Regions from separate parts of the Homo sapiens genome. Here regions 1, 2 and 4 are each linked to region 3. The links are contacts of gene promoters, found by promoter capture Hi-C in blood cells and fetal thymus (Javierre and others, 2016). All regions are on one chromosome and are shown on one strand. The core of a region is centred on a gene start or on the middle of the fragment in contact, and the rest is flanking DNA. Distances in the headings are between cores, read along the strand shown.

Region 1 (4,714 bases), core at 586-3,085, 350 kb after region 3:
GCCGGGCGCAGTGGCTCACGCCTGTAATCCCAGCACTTTGGGAGGCCAAGACGGGCAGATCACTTGAGGCCAGGAGTTTGAGACCAGCCTGGGCAACATGGAAAAACCCCATCTGTGTTAAAAAATACAAAAATTAGCTGGGCGTGGTGGTGTGTGCCTATAGCCCCAGTTACTTGGAAGACTGAGGCAGGAGAATCACTTGAACCCAGGAGGCAGAGGTTGCAGTGAACAGAGGTTGCAGTGAACGGAGGTTGCAGTGAGCGGAGGTTGCAGTGAGCGGAGGTTGCAGTGAGCGGAGGTTGCAGTGAGCCGAGATTGCGCCACTTCACTCCAGCCTGTCTCAAAAAAAAAGAAAAAAAGAAACTGGTAGAATTATTTCTCATACTATTTGTATTTAACCCAATAGATCCAAAATATTATCACTTTGACAGGTAATTAATATTTAAAATTATTAATGAGATATTTACTTTTTTTTCCATACTAAGTCTTTGCATTTGTGTGCATTTCACACTCAAGGCACACAGCAGTTCAGGCTAGCCACATTTTGAGTGCCCTGCGTGCAGGACAGTGCAGCCCTGGCCTCCGCTGTGTCACCACCGCTTGCCTTGTGACCTTGAGCAAGTCCCTTCTCATCTCTAAGTCTCCATGAGTTCCTCCCGGTGTGTCTTGGTCAGACAGCTATCACGGAGGGAAAGTGCATTGTAACCTCACTGTGAGCCGGCCACTGTAACCTTCCTTCCAGTCATCTGCCCTGGCCACCAAGGGACCCACACAGACAAAGTTGCTGAACTTGCATCTCTTGCTTTTGAGGGGGCACAGGTTTGGGGAGACAGACATCTGGTTCCCATTGTGGAAACAGATCTCTCCTCCCAAGCTTGGGCTCTAGAACCCCACCCCGGAGAGGGAGAGGGGCGGGGCTGGGGAGGAGCCAGTGATCAAGTCTTCCCCTGCCTCCACCCTTTTTTTTTTTCTTTTTAGAGCAGTTTTAGGTTCACAGCAAAACTGAGAGGAAGGTGTTGAGACATTTCATATGTCCCTTGCCCCAACCATGCATAGCCTCCCATTATCAATGTCCCTACCAGATGTGTTAGTTGAGAACCCACACTGACACATCATTATCACCCAACATTCTCTGCCCTTTTTTTTAGTGTGTCAAAACAGGTGAGGCTCTCTCACTTCGTCAAAGGTCTGCTCCTTCTCACCCTCCCCCAGGCTGAGCTCTTACGAGGACTAATTAGAGTCCATTTTAACCCAAATGACCTGTCACCTCCCTATTAAAATGCCAGACGACAGTTCTGCTCCTGCAGTATCTGGGACCATCTGGGACAGGGGAGTGAGGTTAAGGTTGGGTTTAGTAAGGGGCCTGCCACGGCTGCTTTAATGTTGTAAAGTGCAAAGTTGGTGCTTGGAGCTGGTGGAGTGGGAATGCGGCTTGCTCGTTGGCGCATTAGACACACATCTCTCCAGCGCCTTGGATGTTTATGCAGCTACTGTGAGGATGCTGGAGATACAGAGAGGAGAGGAGGCCGGCCTCGCCCCCAGGGAGTGCAAGTCTGGTGCAGCAGAGAAGACAGCAAGTAAACAGCCACAGTGAAGTGCCAGGGCCTGCAGGGGACGCGTGGGCAATGTGTGTGGGTGGACGTTCAGCCTGGGCCAGACGGTGGGAGCAGGAAGTTCAAAGCAGGGTGGCACGGAGCCTTTGATCAGGTGTGTGGCTGGAGGGCAGAATGCCAGAGAGACTGGCCAGCCGTGAGATGGGACCCGAGGCAGGTTGGGTCCAGGCCAGGGTGGGCCTTCAATACCAGGTTCAAGAGTATGAATATGGTCCTTTGTTCTCTAAGACTCCTGCTCCAAACAGCAGGACTGCTTGGCACAATTGCCAATTAGGTAGAAATGGGGCAATTCCATTCCATTTCCCCAATATTCATGGACCACTATTGATGGTCTGCTGCAGGGAATACAGAGATGCAAAAAGCATTTTTATTTTTATTTTTTATTTTTTTGAGACAGAGTCTTGCTCTGTTGCTCAGGCAAGAGTACAGTGGTGCAATCTCAGCTCACAGCAACCTCTGCCTCCCGGGTTCCAGTGAGTCTCCTGCCTCAGCCTCCTGAGTAGCTGGGACTACAAGCACATGCCACCACGCCCAGCTAATTTTTGTAACAAAAAGCATTTTTAAGGAAACCAAAAAATAGCCAAACAAAACCCTGGACTTCCATTTCCAGCCATATTGCAGGCTAGACAGCAGAAAACCCTCCTGCTACAACATACTACTTGGAAATGGTGGCCAAACTATAACAACTATCCTTTTAAATGCATGGCTGAGCTTGCAAGAAAGGAAAAGAACTCCCCAGGGACAAAAACACAGAAGCAGCTGAAAACTAGAGCAGGAATCGGGCGACAAAAACACAGAAGTAGCTGAAAACTAGAGCAGGAATCAGGCAGCCGATGTTGGTGTGGTGTGAGCAGCATGGGTGAGGTGGAGGGTGTTGGTCTCTGCAGTCTGGGGATTGGAGTTTATAGCCCCTCTGGGGACAATAAATGAGGCTTTGGGCTCCACAAAGCAAGGGATTGTAAATGAGACCCACCCCCAAACCAGACTCTCCAGAGTTACATTCTCAGTGAAAAGGTAGAGAAGGGTAAAAACCAGTCTCCACTCAGGCAGATCACCTGCCACATCCTGGGCTTGGAGTGGGGAAAGCAGGCTGCTCTGGGAATTTGTAACCATAGGCTTAGCCTCAGGGGGTTTGAGATTTAAATTTAGACTGCTACTTATAGGCTCTGGGGACTCCCAAAGCAAAAGCTTAACACAAAAACAGGTCCCTTGGCACGGGGCAGAAACAAATGCAAACGTGCACTAGAGGGCTATGACCTCAACCCAGGCTGCCCAGGGTTCCCACCAACAGATGCCCCTGCAGATGAGCTCACAAAGGTAAATTACAAAACAAAAGTAGCCATAAGTGAGATCCAGCTGCAAAACCAACAGTACAAGTGGACACCCCAAGAACCCCAGATGATAGATCCAGGAGATAGAGACCATAAAATAGCTATGATTAAAATTACTAATGACAGGCCAGGTGCAGTGGCTCATGCTTGTAATCCCAGTACTTTGGGAGGCTGAGGTTGGCAGATCACTCGGGCCCAGGAGTTCAAGACCAGCCTGGGAAACATGGCAAAACCCCATTTCTATGAAAAATACAAAAATTAGCATGGCGTGGTGATGCATGCCTGTGGTCCCAGCTACTCAGGAGGCTGAGGTTGGAGGATCACTTGAGCCTGGGAGGTCGAGGCTGCCTGCAGTGAGCCATGATCGTGCCACTGCACTCCAGCCTTGGTGACAGAGCAAGACCTTGTCTAAAAAGAAAAAGAAAAAAAAGACACCCAGCACTTTGGGAGGCAAAGGCAGGTGGATCAGTTGAGGTCAGGAATTCGAGACCAGCCTGGCCAAAATGGCAAAATCCCATCTCTACTAAAAATACAAAAATTCGCTGGGCATAGTGGTGTGCACCTGTAGTCCCAGCTACTCGGGAGGCTGAGGAAAGAGAATCGCTTGAACCTGGGAGGTGGATGTTGCAGTAAGCCGAGATGGCACCACTGCACTCCAGCCTGGGTGACAGAGCAAGACTCTATCTCAAAAAAAAAAAAAAAAAAAAAAGACATAAAGAAGTTTTGGGAAATATCAAAATGAATTAGATATTATGAAAAAAAAGCAGAGTTTCTGGTTAGAGACAGCAGAATAAACGCAGGTATTTATCCCTGCTACCTCCTGAAATGCCTTTAAAATGGCAGAATAGGCATTTTCAAAATATCACAATGACAAAGAAAATGGGATGTGAGGTAAGAGAAACAAAATTTTCAAATTGGAAAGCAGACGGATGAGTGAGAACCACCTTAGTGGATGAAAAAAAAAACAGTCCTAAACTGGCAGTAAGGAGGGCCTAGACACAAAAGAAACCCCCAAAGGCTAGGAATTGAGTACCAGGTGCTTCTGGCAGCAGAGGTAAGGAGCATATTGAACCACAGGGGATTTGTTGAAAGACAGTTTAAAGAGCCATCAGTAACGTCCCAAGGTGACTCTCTCTACCACACCCCAGCAGAAGACAGATGGTTTATTCTGCAGAGCGGCTAAAGCCAAGGGTCTCTGGACTGAGGAAAAGTAAGTCCAGCTGGGGACGGGGTGCATCTTATTGAAAACAGGGGAATACAGTGAGGGTCTTTGTACTGAATATGAAGACTCCCAGTTGGCATCCAGGCTTAGTATGAACCTGTAGGCAGGAGATTCAAAGATAATTCCCTGGGGATCTGAGAAGCCCAAGAGCAAAGATCTAAAGACACTGACATTGTGAGCTCACTGATGAAGGAACCCAGCCAGATCACCCAACAGTGAAGTTCCTGGTGGGTAGCAAACTCTGAGCTCTCAGCTTCCTAGCAGCCTCTACACACAGAAGCCAATGGTCACCAAGGCACTTGGGGGAGACAAACAATAACAAATAGATCTTTTTTTAAAGAAAAAAGCTTAGGGAAAGAGATAAGAAGAAAATATAAAAAAAAATTATCATTAGTAGTACCAAAGATGAGCTATAGCACACATTAAACAAGAACAGGATGTTATCAAAAAGGAACATTCTGGCCAGGCGCAGTGGCTCATACCTGTAATCCCAGCACTTTGGGAGGCTGAGCCAAGCACATCACTTGAAGTCAAGAGTTCTAAACCAC
Region 2 (5,413 bases), core at 2,320-4,819, 290 kb after region 3:
ATCTCAAAAAAAAAAAAAAGAAAAAGAGAGAATGAAGCCTTGAAGAGGAGGGGATTTTCTGAAGCCCCAGAACCAGCTGCCCTTATTGCCTTACAGACAATCCCATCCCCCACCGGAGCCAGCAAGGTGGGATGGGGTTGAACTAAGATTCCCACAGGGACCAGGCCAGGAGGGGCTTGGCCAGCTCCCACTCCATGCCAGAGAGGGGCATGACTGGGCCAGGTGACATGGCAGGACCAGCCCAGAGCCCACCTTGGGGTCCCATCCCAGCTCATCTCACAGGGCTGGGCCAGGCTGCAGATGCTCTAGATTCGTTTCCTGCAGCTGAGGCTCACACCAGCGCCTCCCAGATTTGTGCCAGGGGAGGAGGATAAAGCGCTAGGTTGAGACCCAGTAGCGTTTGCCAAGAAGGAGGGTTCTGGCCTCGGAGTGGCTGGGGTCTCCATGGCCCCCTTCCAAGCTCCCTTCACCAGCAGAGTGGCCATGCACCCTCCCCTCCCGTCAAAGCCACAGCCCTGACACCACTGAGCCTCTTGGACTCTCTCCAATGACATGGCTGAACCGGCCCACCCACGTGGCCAGCCCCACGCCTGTGATTTCAGAGAGAAGCTTAACAGAGATCTCACCAAATTCCACCCCCTCAGAGGCTGACCCAAATGCCCATGCTCTGTGACCACGGCCATCTCGCTGCCCCTCTCTGAACCTCCTCTTCTGAAAACTGCCTGCCATCACACTAACCTGCCAGGCACTTTTGAGCAGCTGATTTCACAAATCTTAATTATTATTCAGATGTCCGCTTTACAGAATAACAACTGAGGCCGGAGAGTCTAGGTGGAGCGCCCAAAGCCGGCCAGGTGGTGGGCAGTGACGTGGGCAGCCAGAGGCCTGGGCTAGTGCCTGGATTCCCATCCCAGCCGCACTGTGACTCAGCGGCCTGGGGCGAGTCACCCACCCGCAGAGCCTCGGTTTTCTCCTCTGTAAAGTGGGGGTGATAAGGGCACAGAATGAGCCTGAGCAGGTGCAGCTCTCAGCACAGGGCGTGGGGTTCTGTGGGCAGTGCCCTCCAGGCACCTCCTCCCTTGGTGGTGATGGATCAAGATCGTTCATGGAACTGTGTTGGGAACATATAGATGAGGAATTCCATTTGCTATGACAATTATTATTCAATGGCTTCCCGAGTCAGGAATGTAGGTCCTGCCCACGCAGGAGCTGTGTCTCTGGTGTGAGCTCCAGGGCCCCTCCTTCTCTGCCCTCCACATGTAGCCGGGAGGTCTGAGCAGGTCTTGTTTTTCAGCAATCCCCCCGCCCTTCCCTGGAGGGAAGGCGATATCCACAATTCCTTCCTGAGCACCTACTGTGTGCCAGGCATGGAGAGGCACCAGAGGCGAAGACGGGCCCAGTGTGGTCAGGGGTATAATGGGGGCACCAGGGTCTATGGGAGGCTGGAGGCAGCCCCTGACCTTGCCTATTGTTAGGGGGAGGGAGCACAAAAGGCTTCTAGAAGAGCAGGTCTAACCTGAGACCCAAAGCTTGAATAGGAGTCAACCAGGCTGAGGGTGTGGGATGCTCTGGCAAGGGGCACGCAGTGTGCGCAAAGGCCTGGGGCGAGAGGAACAGGACTCATTAGAACACGGCTTGCAGGCATGTTCGTTTCAATATCCCACGGGGTGGGAGGGGTCATGGGGAGCCATGGAAAGTTTTAGGCAGGAAGTAACATATTCAGAAGCACCTTCCAGAAAGACTGCTCTGGCTATCCTTTGGAAGAAGGATTGCAGGGCAGAGCAGAAGCAGGGAGGCCACCAAGGTGGCTGCTGCAGACATCTGGATGATAATGGGGGTCTGGACCAGGGCGGCAAAAGTCGGGGAAGGGAAGTGATTAAAAAGATGTAGGCCAGACGCAGTGGCTCACGCCTATAATCCCAGCATTTTGGGAGGCTGAGGCAGGAGGATTGCTTGAGCCCAGGAGTTCAAGACCAGCCTGGGCAACATAGCAAAACCCTGTCTCTACAAAAAATACAAAAATTAGCCAGGTATGGTGATGTGGTCCTGTAGTCCCAGCTACCTGGGAGGCTGAGATGGGAGGAACGCTTGAGCCCAGGGGGTTGAGGCTGTAGGGACCTGTGATGGTGCCACTGCACTCACTCCAGCCTGGGTGACAGAGTGAAACCCTGTCTCAAAAAAAAAAAAAATAAAAATAAAAAGAAGGTATAGAGGGTAGATCTGACAGGACAAGAAAGTGAGGGTCAAAGAGGGTGGGCCATGGGCTGGATGGGGGGCCATCTCTGAGGCAGCCCATAGAAGAGAAGTGGGTAGGGGGACTCTCCATGGCCCTGAGTCCCCACAGCTCTGCTGGGTTCCTCAGTACAGTCCTGCCCCTAGAACTGCCCTTCTTAGGCTGCAGCGGGGAGCTGCACTGGATGGAAACCCACAGGTCTGTGGCAGGTGGAGGCCTCATGGGTAGACAGCTGGCAGTCCTGGGGCCAAGTCCCAGGACATGGGGTCCCTGCCTGCAGCCAGCAGAGGACAGAAGCCTCGGCCTGGACTTCCCACTTCCCGGATGAGGCATCCCAAGCTCCGCAGAGGAGGAGGGCCTTGCCCTGGGTGGTGGGGGTTTCTCTCAGCCCCCCATTCTTGTTCCTTAGGTTTCCTCGTCTCTGAGACGGGTAGATGCAGATGGACAGACTCAGCCACCCGCCCCAGAGGGCCTGGCAGCTGAGCAAACACTGCACGGGGCCTTGATCGGACACAGGAGAATGAGGGGGTGGGGGGTGGCAGCGGTCAGAGCCCACAGGCCCCAGGAGAGTTTGTAGAAGAGAAGTGGAACAGCAGTCCTGGGGGTGCCCAGCCTATGGCTGGTTCCTCACCCCAACCCCCTGCCCTCCTCACCTCACCCGCTCCTTGGTTCCAAGTGCTGAAAAGTTAAGCTCCCAAAATGTGGGGTCCTCCATGACTCCCTCCCCCCATACTCAGTCATAATCAAGTCCTGCTCCCTCTGCCACCAAATCTGTCCCCCCTCTCCCCCCAGCCACCCCCAAGTACAGCTGGACCATCTCTCCCAGGACACCAGCCTCCCTGGGCGTCCTGCCTCCTTCTTCCCTCCCACCTCCTCAGTGCAGCCCCAGGGAAGCCTAGGGACCCTTTAAAGATGCACTGGGCTTGCGTCAGGCCCCGCGTGTCCAGGCACCGGCCCCACCCAAGGCTCCACCGAGGTCATCTCCCAGCACTGACCTGCTCCTCCTCGCAGCCCCTGGTCTCCTTCTATTTCCCACAGTTCCGCCCCTTCCTCTCCTCCAGCCTTGCACTTGCCACTCCTGCCACTTAGGTGTCCCCAGCTCTTCCCAGGGCTGCCCCTACCTTCAGATCTCAGCTTGGACGTCACCTCTCCCAGGAAGGATCTGGCCCAGGCCGCATGCTCTGCCTTCCCTCCATCATTGCAGTCTTCAAAACGCTTCTGAAACCTGAACTACTTGGGGCTGCCCTACAGGAAGCTCCCTGAGGGCAGGTGCTGGCCTCTCTTGCTCGCCTGTGTGCATTGTTGTCAGGTGCCTGAGTGAAGGAGCACATAAATTGGCAGCCGCTGCCTTAGGGTCGGAGAAGGCTCTGACTTTGCAGCCAGTGGGTGGTCACAGAATGCAACACCAGTGGCACATGTGCAGGTGTGGGTGTGTGTATGTGTGAACATATGTGTGCATGTGTGTGTGCAGTGTGCATCATGTGTGCAGGTGGGGAGTGCATATGTGTGCAAGTGTGCATGTGTGTCTCGTGTAGGTGTGTGCACAGTGTACAACTGTGTGCAAGTGTGTACAGTGTTTCTGCATGTGTGCAGAGTGTACCTGTGTGTGTGCGTGTGGACAGTGTGCACCGGCGTGACACTGTGTCGAATGTGTGTGCACAGTGTACCTGTGTGTGTGCATGTGGACAGTGTGCACCGGCGTGACACTGTGTCTAGTGTGCACCGTGTACCTGTGTGTGTGTGTGTGGACAGTGTGCACCGTGTACCTGTGTGTGTGTGTGGACAGTGTGCACCGGCGTGACACTGTGTCGAATGTGTGTGCACAGTGTACCTGTGTGTGTGCATGTGGACAGTGTGCACCGGCGTGACACTGTGTCTAGTGTGCACAGTGTACCTGTGTGTGCATGTGGACAGTGTGCACAGTGTACCTGTGTGTGTGTGTGTGGACAGTGTGCACCAGCGTGACACTGTGTCAAATGTGTGTGCACAGTGTACCTGTGTGTGTGCATGTGGACAGTGTGCACCGGCGTGACACTGTGTCTAGTGTGCACAGTGTACGTGTGTGTGTGTGTGGACAGTGTGCACCGTGTACCTGTGTGTGTGTGTGTGGACAGTGTGCACCGGCGTGACACTGTGTCGAATGTGTGTGCACAGTGTACCTGTGTGTGTGTGTGTGTGGACAGTGTGCACCGGCATGACACTGTGTCGAATGTATGTGCACACGTGCACACATGTCTAGACTGCCTGAGTGCAGCCATGTGTCCTTTCCTGTCGGTAAGGAAGAGGAACCAGGGGACAGATCCTGGCATGGGGACACAGCCACTGGCTGTTGAGATGTGCCAAGCCCTCCAGCCTGGAGGCCAACGTCCTGGCCCTGGCCCTTCCCTGCTGAGGGACCCTGGCCCTGACCCTTTCTTCTCTGTGCCTCCACGGACCACAGGTTACATGAAACTCCCGTGAGCAGTGCACCTGAGGAAAACTGCAGCTTCCCAGCCGGTCCAGAGACTCGTTCTGCTGATGCGGAGGGGCCCAGGAATGCCAGGAATGGGCATTTAGCAACCCCTCCCCCTTCCCCATGCAATTGTGACGTGCTCCTGGGAGCTGTGACACTTGGTGACCTGGCCCCTCTGAGCCTGTTTTCCCACCCATCAAGTGGGGATAAAAACAGGACTGCCCCAGGAGGTCACTGTTAGGGTCAGTGAGCTGGGGCTCCAGGAGGGCCTGATACACGGTAGGTGCTTCATCCCTGGGCACTGGGGTTGCTCCTGCTGTGCCCAGGGGTGGCGAGGCTGCCAAAGATGCTGGAAGGGTCTGCAACCAGAGTAGGGTGGGCGGGGCTCTGGGGCTTCTGGATGGCAGGGACTCTTTTCCAACACAAGCTGCACCCAGGCGGGGATGCGTAGCTCGGTACCTACAGGGAGGGTGTGAGGTCGCGAGGCCCAGAGCCACTCTCCTCCCCTGAGAACGTGGTCTCAGCCTCGCCGCACTGTGTGTGAAGCACCCCCTGCTCCTCCCAGGCACTGGAGGTCCTCCCACCCCACGGCTTGCTCCTTGGTCTGAGCATCACAAGAGAGAGAAGATGTGGTTTGGGCAGGGACTCCTGCACAGAAGAAGAAAAGAAAGCCAGAGATGTTGCTTCCTCTGACCAAGGTCACACAGCGAGTCCAGGCTGAGGCGAGG
Region 3 (5,503 bases), core at 1,847-4,346:
GCCCTGAAACCCCCGGCGTCCCCCGGCTGCTTTCCCCGGCCACAGAGAGCTCAGACTCGAGGCCGACCAGGCCCTGCGCCTGTGCCTGGGCAGGAAATGTGCTGGAGGCTGGCTCCGCTTCCCGCTGGAGACCCCGGGGCGGCCAGTTCCCGTGGGGGACAGGACCCCCCTGGAGCGGGGGCGGCCGAGAGACGCGCAGCACCCGCTTCATCCCCAGCCACCAACATCACCCCCCATTCTCCCACCGCCGACCTTGCGGATGTGGGTAGATCCCGCCCGCCCAGGCCGAAGAGAACTGGGGTTTACATGGGGGTGGGCGGGGTCTCTCCCCACACCTCTCTATCCTCTCTGACGCCCCCAGACATCTGAAAACAAGGCACCACCATCTTCTGTAATCGACTTTTTATTAAGATTATAAATTTAAACAATCTGAACAGTTTTACCCGGTGATATACAATTCAGTATGCACAAAAATACAGGGTAATGAGGGAAAAGGGCCGAGAAAGGAAGGATTGGCAACTCGTTTTGGAGTCCACACGGTGCTGATGGCAGAGAACCAGAGGGGCTGCAGACGAACCCCACCTTTTTACAACAAAAGGCTTTTAAATTAAACAAATCTATCGAGCTGAAGACACAGGACGGGGTTCTCACAGGCTCGAACAATGCTGGTTTCATGAAATGCAACCGAAGGCTGAACCAAGGCAGTGCAACTTAGAAGCACACACACAAACACCACAGCTGACCAGGAACTTAGTGCAAAGTCTCCAACGCAGTCGGCGGTCCCGGCCCCTCCCTCCCCCGGGGCCGCCGGGGATCCAGGTGAAGGAATTGACTTCCTTTTTTGTTTAGTGAGGACCGCAGTGCTAGGCATGATGGGAAATGTAGTCCGCCGTGCCCGCCCCCCACCCCTTACCCAGTGTCCGAGAGTGTCGGGGTGTCAGGCGCCACCCCCGAGTCCGGGAGACGGGTGGAGGAGGGGAGGAGAACGGAGCCAGAGGGGCGGGGAGAAGAGGGGTTCAAGACACCCGCCCCGGGAAGAAAAGAAAAAAAAAGTTGAAGTGTTTTCATTTCTGCCTTCTCATTTTGAGAACTTTGGAGTCCGCCCCCAGAGAGGAAATGTGACCCAAACGTCCCTTTCGGAGATAGAGTTTGCCTTTGTTTTTGCTCAGAATTTCACAAGACCCATTCCTCACCCCACAGAGGGACTCGGGAGAGCGGAACGTCGGGCTTCCCGGGTCTGACAACTGATTGGAATCGGCTTCCCAGGTCCGGCGCCCTCCTGAGCTGCGCCCCCGGCGCGCCCCGGCGGCCAGGGCGCCCTGCCTCGCCCCCGGCTGCCCGGCACCTCCTCCGGGCAGCAGCCCTCCCTCACGTGGTAGGCTCCTCGCTAAACACCACTGCAATCACTACAATAAAAAGAAAAAAAGGAGTAGGAGAAACACAAAGCATACTTAAATAGGCGCTTTTTCTCTCTGCAAAAATAAAGTCCAAGATTTTAGATTTCTTTTTTTTTTATTTTACAATTTATAAAACATCAGCCGCCTGCCCCCGCTCGCCCCCAGCTCAGCCCCGAGTGGCCCGGCGCCCGCTCGTTCCCTCCTCTCGCCCCTTTGCCGAGTCTTTGTCTGGCCCCAGCCCCGCGGGGCCCCGGGTCCCTGTGCCCTCGGGGGTCCCTAGAAGGCGACAATGGCTCGAGTCCAGGCGCCGAGGCTGGCGAGCGCCTGCTTGGCGCACAGCTGCCCGTTGAGCGGCGGCGGCTGCTCCGAGGAGTCCGGCTGTCGGCTCACCAGCCCCGAGAAGCCGGAGCCAAAGATGGAGATCAAGTTTGAGATGTTGGACGCGTCCGGGGACGAGTCCGGGCAGAAGTCCTCGAAGCGGGCGCGCTTGCAGGGGGCGAACGGGGCGCCCCCGGGGGGCTCGGCCCCCAGCCCGCCCGCATCCTCCTCGTCGTCTTCCTCCTCCTCCTGGCCAGGGTAATACTTGCGCTTGCAGCCGGCGGCGGACGCCAGGCCCGGTCCCGGAGCGCCCTGGCCACAGCAGGGGCAGTGGGCGGAGGCGCAGCAGTCCTGGTGCAAGTAGCCGTTCTCCACCGTGGTCACCACGTGAGTGTCTAGGTCCAGCACGGTGGTCTGGCTGCTGCAGTGCAAGCCGAAGTCCGAAGGGGTAGGGTATGCGCCCCGGTAGAAGCCGGGGGAGGAGGCGGGGGCCGGGGAGGCGGGCGGAGAAGCGGCGGCGGCCGGAGGGGCGGCCCCTGGGGGCGCGGAGCAGGCGGCCGGGGCGCGAGGGTCCCGCGGGCAGAGCGCAGCGGGCGCGGGCGGCGGCAGCGGCAGCGGCAGCGGCGCAGGACCCGGCTGCAGAGGCTCCAAGGGCTGCCCGCGGTGGGGCGCGCCGTGCGGCGGCTGGAGCGCGGCGCACCCGGGCAGCTCCGAGAGCGCCCCCGCGCCGCCCGCGGGCGCTCCGGCCGCCGCCGCCGCCGCGCAGCCCCTGGGCGCCGGGTGCTGGTGCTGGTGCAGCTGCTGCTGGAGGTGCAGCTGGTGGAGCTGGTGGAGCTGGTGCAGCTGGTGCCGGGCGGCCGGCTCGCGCGCCTCCGCGTCCCCGCCGCCGCCAAGTTGGAGCGGGCCGAAGTCGGCCGCGCTGGCCGGCATGCCCGGCGCCGCGTACGCTAGGTGCTGGTGCTGGTGGTGGGGCGGCTGCTGCTGTTGCTGCTGCTGCTGGCGCCGGTAGAGCTCGGCGTAGCGCTCGCTCAGGTAGAGCTGGCGCGCGTTGCGGAGCACGTAGGACACCAGGAGGTTCTTGTGCAGCTTGATGCCGCCGCGCTGGGTTCGGGAGCTGTGGATCTTGCGCAGGGAGATGCTGATCAGGCTCTGGGCGTCCAGGGCGCACTCCATGCTCCCGCGGAGACGGCGGCGGAGCAGCCGCCGCCGCTGCTGCTGTTAACGCTTCTGCTGTTTCTGCCTCCAGCCGGCCGCCGGGGCGCGCCGGGCAGGGGTAACGGAGTCCGGGTCAGAGGTTCGGCTGCGCTCCGAAAGGAGCCGCCACCATGCGCCGCGCGCCACCCGCGGGCTCGCGCTCCCCAGACGGCGCCAAAGCAATGAGTCTCGGCCGGCCCCGGCCCCAGCTATTTAGCCGGGTGCCCGGGCCCCGCCCCACATGAGAAGAGCCAATAGGAGCTCTGAGAGTCTCCTGAGTGACAGGCGCAGCCCGCCCCGGGGCTACTCGGCTGGCCAATCAGACCAAGGCGGTTCCTTTGTGCTATTCAAATACCGAACGGACCCCGGGCCTCCAACGCCGCTGCTGCCTCGAATGTTCTCCTGGGGCTGCCGCGCCGCGCGGGACTCGGAGCCGCCGGGGCCGCAGTCTGCAGCATAGGTCGCCTGGCAGCGGCCACGTTGAAGCCCGCGGCTGCCCTCGCCTTAGGTCCCGGGAGCCGGGGGTCGGCTCACCTGAGTGCTGCGGCGACGGCTCCTCCCCTTTCCGCACGGCTGGGCCTCACCTGCGGCAGGTGCGCGCCGCTCATCGCTCCCCCAGCGGCGCGGCGCCTCCACCTGCGCACCTGTCGCCCCCCCGAGTGACCCGCGGGAGTCAAGGCCTCTCTACAGGAGGCTGGTGGAGCCGCCGGCTTGACACTGGGGAACATCAAAGGAGCGAGGTTTTGGGGGTACCCTCTACCGCAGAGAATGTAGGGCCTGACTCCTTGACTTTTTGGTCGAGGGGCCTCTGGGAATGCTTGCGGAAGGGAAGTCCTCCCCATTTGTCTGACAGGAAAAACCAAAACATCGTGAATTTTGACCTTCTCTGATGGAGAGAGTTCCGAGGCCAGGCATGACCCAGGGAGTGTGTGGACCTCGCGACCAGCTGAGGCTCAAAAGCGTCCTGGGAGCCGAAACGCTGAGTGCCCTAATCACCAGCTCTGTAACCTTTCCTTTCGTGCCTAACTAATAATAATGACAATAGGGACTATTATTATGGGCCTAATATGGGGCAGGCCCTTCCCAGCAACTCCCCAATGCCTCACTCTAACGTTTGTAGAGGAGGGGCCTGAGGCTCGGAGGAGTGGAGTGACTTGGGGAACCACACAGTTCCCAGGGGGCGGAGCTAGGAGCTGGGACAGGACCCTGCGCTCGAGACGGGAGGTGAATACCAAAGGCCCGGGGACTCACCGACTTAACTTCTGTTGACACAGCTTTCCTTCTTATCCTGAACCCTTCAGGTCCCAGCTGGGGACTGAGACAGTGGGAGAAGAGAGGGACAGGATTGCTGATTCCTGGGGGCGCTCTATCTGGACCAAGAGGCCTGAAGGGGGCTGGTTGCTGCTCCCAGGGGTTTCAAAGGTGCCTGGGGTGGGGGCTGCCCAGACAGCTCTGGAGGCTCTTGGAAATGGTCTGGAGGTTTGCCTGAGGAGGGTCCATGAGTGGATCCCTGAAGGATGAACGAGGTCTGCAGAGTCTCCCAGAGATAGGTGGACCTTGTGGGGCTGGACTCAGGGGGGAGGCCCATGACCAGACGTCCTGCTGCTTCACCGCCTCCTCAGGGGATCTTCTGAGTCTCTGCTTTTTGGGGCTTCCTTCTGAGTTCTCAGCACCTACTTCATCCCTTGGTGGGAGTGGAGAGACCCAGTAGCCCACCCTGTGGTCTCTGGGTCTTTCTTTAGTCTTAAGAATTTCCAAGATTTCTGCAAAAGTTTCTTAGCATCTACTCCATGCCAGGCGTTGAGAGTGAAGACAGAGTTAGCGGGTGTTTACTTCATTTTTCCGATGAGGAAACTCGGACACTGACAGCGTGAGACTTGCCCAAGATCACATGGCCCCAGGGCTGGTGCTGTGTCCTTCCCTTGGCCCCCTCGAACAATCTCAAACGCTTTGGGCCCCTGTGACCAATAGCACCTCTCCAGGCCTCCTCCCAGAGAAGCCAGGATTGAAATTTCAGGGGACTTCAGATAAAGGATGTCCTACCTACATTTTATTGGTGATACAGACCTACAGGCTGTGGAACTTGCTCAGGTGATAACACGTAGAAGTAAAAATACACTGCCCTTCACTTCCCTGGTGCCTGTCTTAAAGGCACACAAAGACTTTATTTATGGCCGGGCGCGGTGGCTCACGCCTGTAATCCCAGCACTTCGGGAGGCCGAGGCGGACAGATCACGAGGTCAGGAGATCAAGAGCTTCCTGGCTAACACAGTGAAACCCTGTCTCTACTAAAAATCACAAAAAATTAGCTGGGCGTGGTGGCGGGTGCTTGTAGTCCCAGCTATTTGGGAGGCTGGGACAGGAGAATGGTGTGAACCCGGGAGGCGGAGCTTGCAGTGAGCCCAGATGGCGCCACTGCACTCCAACCTGGGCAACAGAGTGAGACTCCGTCTCAAAAAAAAAAAAAAAAAAAGACTTTATTTATTTATGTTTGAAGTTCACCTTTGAGACATCACTAGCATGCAGAGGGATCTGGGAGCTCTTACCGGCTTTACAGCTGTGAGGACTCTGTATGCAACAGTGAAGTCTGGGAT
Region 4 (5,508 bases), core at 1,561-4,060, 260 kb after region 3:
GTGATAAACAGCCCGGAGCCGAGCCGCCGCGCAGCCGGGCGGGAGGCTGCGTATCAGAGCTCCTGGCAGGCTCGCAAAAAGCTGTCCCCGGCCCGCCGCCGCTCTATCAGCCCACGGAGGGAGGGCGGCGGGGGAGGGAGGGAAAAAGTATTTGCTTCAGCCCTTAATCACGGAATTTGAAATCCCAGCGAGTCGGTGCCATTTATTTTCAGAGGCTGTCAAGGCTGGTTTCAGCATTTAAAAGAAAGGAGGATAAAACGCATTTGCATTTCTCCCCCACTCTCGCTGCGCGCTCGCCGGCGCTCCCCCTCGTTCCCTGCGCAGCTCGCGGGTCGGGCGTTGGCGGGGAGGGGGAGGCCAGAGGCTTTTCAAGGCGCTGGGGGCTCCGGCCGGCCCGGTGGGGGCCTCCCCCCGCCAGAGTCAGGGGTGTCGGGCGATTCCGGGGTGGGGGCCCGAGTCTGGTCCAGCGGGGCTCTGGGTGGCAGAGGGGGGAAGGTTAAGCGGGGCTGCTGGCTTGGGGAATTTGGGGCCGTCCGCGGGGCTCTCCTCGGGCTCCAAGCTTTCACCCCAGAAAACAGCCCTGAACCCCAAATTTGCTCCAGCCCCAGGGGGCCCTACCTGCCCTTCCTGGCTTCCCCAGTGGAAATCTAAGGTACTGGAGGCTTCCAGGGGAGCCAGGGCACCCCTAGGACAACCCCCTCTCTCTGCAGATGGGGAAACTGAGGCCTGGAAACAGAGAACGGTGGGACCAAGGTCACATGATGGCGGAAGGAGGACAAGGAAGGAGGCTGACTGCGTATCCAGCACGTGTTCCGTGCCAAGCCTGTGCAGGGGCCAAGGACCGGGGTCTCTGGACAGCGCCGGTTGCTGGGTCCCACGCTGGGCGACAGGGCCTTTGCAATCAGGCCGACAGGGTTTGAACCCTTGCCGCGGCACTTTCCAGATGGCCTTGGCCACTGTCCCCTCTCTGACCTTCAGATGGAGCCCATGGCACCTCCGGAGGGGGTGTGTGCTTCCAGGACCAAATCCACTTGTGCGTGGTTAGGCACGAGGTGGGGGGAGGCGGCTCAGCCACCGGGACCTGTCCTGCCTCCACCCTCTGTGCAACCCCTTTCCTTGCCTTTTGTCTCTGTTGCTTTTGGGGGGTGATTAGCCGCTAGCTCAGCGGCTAGAGGATTCTCTCCCGGAAAAGGCTCCGGAGTTGAGGCCCAGACCCCCAGGGCAAGACGGAATCTGCTCCCCAGGGCACTAACTGAGACTCGGTTCCCTCACTGGTAAAATGAGAAAACTCACTTATGGTCAGGGGTCCCCGAGTTAATGCCAGTGAATTCCTTGGCAGAGCATCAAGCACTTGGAGAAGCCCCCACCCCCGGTCATTGTGATGATGGTTTGTTTGTTTGTTTGTTTGTTTTGAGACGGAGTCTCGCTCTGTCGCCCAGGCTGGAGTGCAGTGGCGCGATCTCGGCTCACTGCAAGCTCTGCCTCCCGGGTTCACGCCATTCAGGTGATGATGTTTTTTATTTATGTGCCCACCTGCCCCACTCCGTAGGGCCCCTCGAGGCCAGGACTGCACCGTTCATCTCGGAATTCGCTTGTTCCTAACTTAGGGGAGTGGCGCCGAGACACCGTGTAGCGCCCATGCCAAGGAGGAAGCGAGACAGCAGGAGCGGAGGAAAGAACCCCGGGCTGTGTTGAGGAAGCCTCCTACTTTTGCCTGAAGTGAGGTTGTTGTTGTTGTTGTTGTTGTTTTTTCCACGTGCCTTATTCATCCACGTAACCTCAGCCTCTAGTGCAGCGTCCTATTTTTTGGCTTGTATTATTATTTTTAATTGGCACATAATAATTGTACATATTTATGGGATGCAGTGTAATATTTTAGTACACATATACAATGTGTATTGGTCAAATCAGGGTAATTAGCACATTCAGGGTTGGAGTTTTTCTGTCAATACAGATACTTATAGAAACTTTTTTTTGTGTGAGATAGGGTCTTGCTCTCTTGCCCAGGCTGGAGTGCAGTTGCATGATCACAGCTCAAGCCATCCTCCCACCTCAGCCTCCCGAGCAGCTGGGACTACAGGCACAGGCCACCAAACCCGGCGAATTTTTTATTTCTTCTAGATATAGAGTCTCACTATGTTGCCCAGGCTGGTGTCAAACTCCTGGGTGCAAGTGGTTCTACCACCTTGGCCTCCCAAAGTGCTGGGATTACAGGTGGAAGCCACCACGCTTCCCTAAAAATGCCAGTCAATATTATATGTCCTGTTTGGCAATTTATTGCACCTCATTATTTTTCCTGGCTGCGTAGTATTCCATTGTGCACATGTACCTGTATGTGGTTATCCAATCCCCAGAGGATGGGCACATAGGTTGTGTCTCGTTTTGTCCTCTGACCTCAGGGCTGCAGAGAACAGGCTGGCCTCATACAGCAGGCATCATTATTGGTGTCAGTGGGGCCCCTGTTCTGATAGTCACAGAGAGGCACGGGTGGCTGTGGGAAGCTCTATCCCCTTTCATAGGGAAAGGCAGTTTAGGGCTCTGGAAAGCCAGGGCTGGGAGGGAAATGGCGTCAGGGAAACCAGCATAGAAGTCCCTATCTGGCCATCTTGGCGGAACCCAAAGCCTCGAGTCCACAGTGGGCACCTGACTCAGCAGGGAGGAGGGTGGGAGGCCTAGAGCTTTGTGGCAAGGCAGGCAGGGCTTTCCTTCTTGATTCCTTCCTTCCTTCCTTCCTTCCTTCCTTCCTTCCTTCCTTCCTTCCTCCCTCCCTCCCTCCCTCCCTTTTCTTTTCTTTTCCTTTTCTTTCTTTCTTCTTTCTTTCTTTTCTTTCTTTCTTTCCTTCTTTCTTTCTTTCTTTCTTTCTTTCTCTCTTTTTCTTTCTCTCTCTCTCTCTTTCTTTCTTTTTTTTCTTTTTTTTTTTTGAGACAGAGTCTTGCTTTGTTAACCCAGGCTGATGTGTAGTGGTGTGATCTCGGCTCACTGCACCCTTCACCTCCCAGGTTCAAGCGATTATCCGGCCTCAGCCTCCCAAGTAGCTGGGACTACAGGTGTGCACCAGCACAGCCAGATAATTTTTGTATTTTTAGGAGAGATGGGATTTCGCCATGTTGGCCAGGCTGGCCTCAAACTCCTGGCCTCAAGTGATCCACCCACCTCGGCTCCCAAAGTGCTGGGATGACAGGTGTGAGCCTCCGCGCGTGGCCTCCTTCTTGATTCTGTTGTTTGTGCCTCAAAGGGAATATTCAGAGTGTGGCTCATGAAGTCTGGCCAACCTCCATCGGTTTGCAAGCTCTGGCACCTCGGAGCCTCCGTTTCCCAATCTATAATAAGAGGACAGTAATGGCACCCACCTCACAGGGCAGCTGTGAGGGCTCCATGAGGGAGTCCAGGCAAAGCCTTTCAGCGAGTTTCCTGAAATGCTGTGAGGTCTCAGGGAAGGCTTGCCATCGTCATTATTGTTTCTAACGACATTTTCAGAAATCTGAATGTAAAAAGACCTTCTCTGAGTTGGGTGTCAAAACCAGAAAAAGTCTGTGGTGGGATGTGTGTGTGTGTGTTTCCTTCTCACACTGTCCCTTGCACGTGGGCCCGGGCCCCTGCCTGGTTCTCTCTTTCTCACTATCTGGGACCCCCTAGACTAAATCCATCTCTCCAAGAATCACTGTCTTGCCCCCTCTGTCCTTCTGAGACCTGGGTGGCCTGGGGGGAGAAGCGCCCACCCCCCAACCCCGTCCGCACCACCACTTTCCCATCCAGCCCCACCCTCAGCCTCCTTAATACAGGCTCACCTGGGGCCTCAGTGCCCAGTCCTCCCAGCGCCCGCCCCAGCTGCACTTGAGTCCTGGATCTATCATCAGCCCTTGCTGTGGGAAGTGGCTTTAACCTCCCTGGGCCTCAGTTTCTCTATCTGTAAAATGAGGAGCATAATAAAAAGAACATAAGGTTTTTCTGCCCCCTGCCCACCCCTGCTGAAACAAACAAGCAGACAAGAAATTCATAACCCCCCAGAGGCACTTAGAGCCTGGGAGATTCAGCCGCAAAGGAGTGATCACAGGGTCACAGGGTCCTGGGATGCACAAGGCTCCTTCTCTCCCTTTCCTCCAGGAGGAGTTGGATTTACTTCTGTAAACCCCTGCCCTCCCTTGACCCTGTGCACTCTGGGGAGCACCTAGATTTGCAGGCACGGTGGAGGCAGAGCTGAGCTGAAAGGTGGGGTGTGGGCTCCCCCAGAGCAAGCTCTTCCGGCACCCTGGTGGGATGTGCAGCTGCATTGCTGGCTCAAGACGCCCCCACACCCAACTAGGATCTTTTTTTTTTGAGACGGAGTTTCTCCCAGGCTGAAGTGCAATTGGCGCGATCTCAACTCACCGCAACCTCCGCCTCCCAGGTTCAAGCGATTCTCCTGCCTCAGCTTTCCATGTACCTGGGATTACAGACATGCACCACCATGCCTGGCTAATTTTTGTATTTTTAGTTAAGACAGGGTTTTGCCGTGTTGGCCAGGCTGGTCTCGAACTCCTGACCTCAGGTAATCCACCTGCCTCGGCCTCCCAAAGTGCTGGGATTACAGGCGTGAGCCACCGCGCCTGGCCTCAACTCAGATCTTTAACTCCACTACCATTTGTGAGTGTTCCGCGTGGGCTACATCCTAGGCCAAGGATTTTCTCACCCTGGCCTCAAGAAGATGGAACGGGGCAAGACCTGAGAAGCATGTAGACCTTCAGGATTTTCTCAGTCTGTCAGTTAATCTTGTTTATGATCGATGAGCAAGTCTCTCTCCCTCTCAAAGCCTCAGTTTTCTTACCTATAAAATGGGGCTACATGAGGAGTCAATGAGCTAAGGGTGTGAAGCTGCTGGCACAAAGCCCCACACACGTAAGCCTTAACCAGTGCCAGCCGGATGATAGATGGTGCCGTTGTGCCCAGCAATTCCTTCTCCTAAGCAGGTTATACCATCCTGTCCCCAGAACGTCCTTCCACGCCCTCTGACGAGGCTTGGCCATGTGACTTACTCTGGCCAGTGAAATGTGAGCAGAAGTGACCACACATCAGTGGCCAGCAGAAGCTTTAAAAGCTACACCTGTAGTCCTAGCTACTTGGGAAACTGAGGTGGGAGGATTACCTGAGTTCAGGAGTTCGAGGCTGCAGTGAGCTATGATTTTGCCACTGCACTCCAGCCTGGGTGACAGAGTAAGACCCTGTCTCAAAAAAAAAAAAAAAAAAAGGCTGGGCACAGTGGCTCACGCCTGTAATCCCAGCACTTTGGGAGGCCGAGGCAGGTGGATCACCTGAGGTCAGGAGTTCGACACCAGCCTGGTCAACATGATGAAACTCCGTCTCTACTAAAAATACAAAAAAAAAAAAAAATTAGCTGGGCGTGGTGGCCTGCGCCTGTAATTCCAGCCACTCAGGAGGCTGAAGCAGGAGAATCACTTGAACCCAGAAGGTGGAGGTTGCAGTGAGCCGAGATCGCACCATTGCACTCCAGCCTGGGCAACAAGAATGAAA

Evidence for each region. The method cuts DNA at HindIII sites, captures the fragments that hold promoters and counts their contacts. A CHiCAGO score of 5 or more calls a contact.
Region 1: a contact is called between a fragment that was not itself captured here and the fragment with the promoter of IER5L in region 3, in 3 of 17 cell types (endothelial precursors, M2 macrophages and non-activated CD4 T cells). The highest score is 5.8, in endothelial precursors.
Region 2: a fragment that was not itself captured here is called in contact with the fragment with the promoter of IER5L in region 3 in 3 of 17 cell types (M1 macrophages, M0 macrophages and total CD8 T cells); the score reaches 8.8 in M1 macrophages.
Region 4: a fragment that was not itself captured here is called in contact with the fragment with the promoter of IER5L in region 3 in 5 of 17 cell types (M1 macrophages, total CD8 T cells, monocytes and 2 more); the score reaches 6.9 in M1 macrophages.

What each region holds. Positions count from the first base shown.
Region 1 is chr9:129,523,507-129,528,220 of GRCh38, forward strand. No RefSeq gene overlaps it. Among named protein-coding and RNA genes, the nearest start is that of LINC00963, 37 kb to the left of the region's middle. RefSeq lists an enhancer at 1,544-2,044. The HindIII fragment of the contact is 1,927 bases long and covers 873-2,799 here.
Region 2 is chr9:129,464,737-129,470,149 of GRCh38, forward strand. No RefSeq gene overlaps it. Among named protein-coding and RNA genes, the nearest start is that of LINC00963, 21 kb to the right of the region's middle. RefSeq lists enhancers at 4,004-4,815, 4,816-5,413. The HindIII fragment of the contact is 4,085 bases long and covers 1,528-5,413 here.
Region 3 is chr9:129,175,165-129,180,667 of GRCh38, forward strand. IER5L (immediate early response 5 like) reads right to left here and starts at 3,097. Exons shown (of 1, transcript NM_203434.3): 1 at 388-3,097. The coding sequence starts at 2,888. The coding sequence ends at 1,674. RefSeq lists enhancers at 1-662, 592-651, 3,026-3,320, 3,058-3,981, 3,982-4,905 and silencers at 189-288, 862-911, 1,252-1,401, 2,352-2,691, 2,922-3,301. The HindIII fragment of the contact is 12,631 bases long and covers 1-5,503 here.
Region 4 is chr9:129,437,156-129,442,663 of GRCh38, forward strand. LOC105376291 (a long non-coding RNA gene) reads left to right here. Exons shown (of 3, transcript NR_188645.1): 1 at 1-1,504; 2 at 1,608-1,724. Among named protein-coding and RNA genes, the nearest start is that of LINC00963, 49 kb to the right of the region's middle. RefSeq lists an enhancer at 1-379. The HindIII fragment of the contact is 4,506 bases long and covers 558-5,063 here.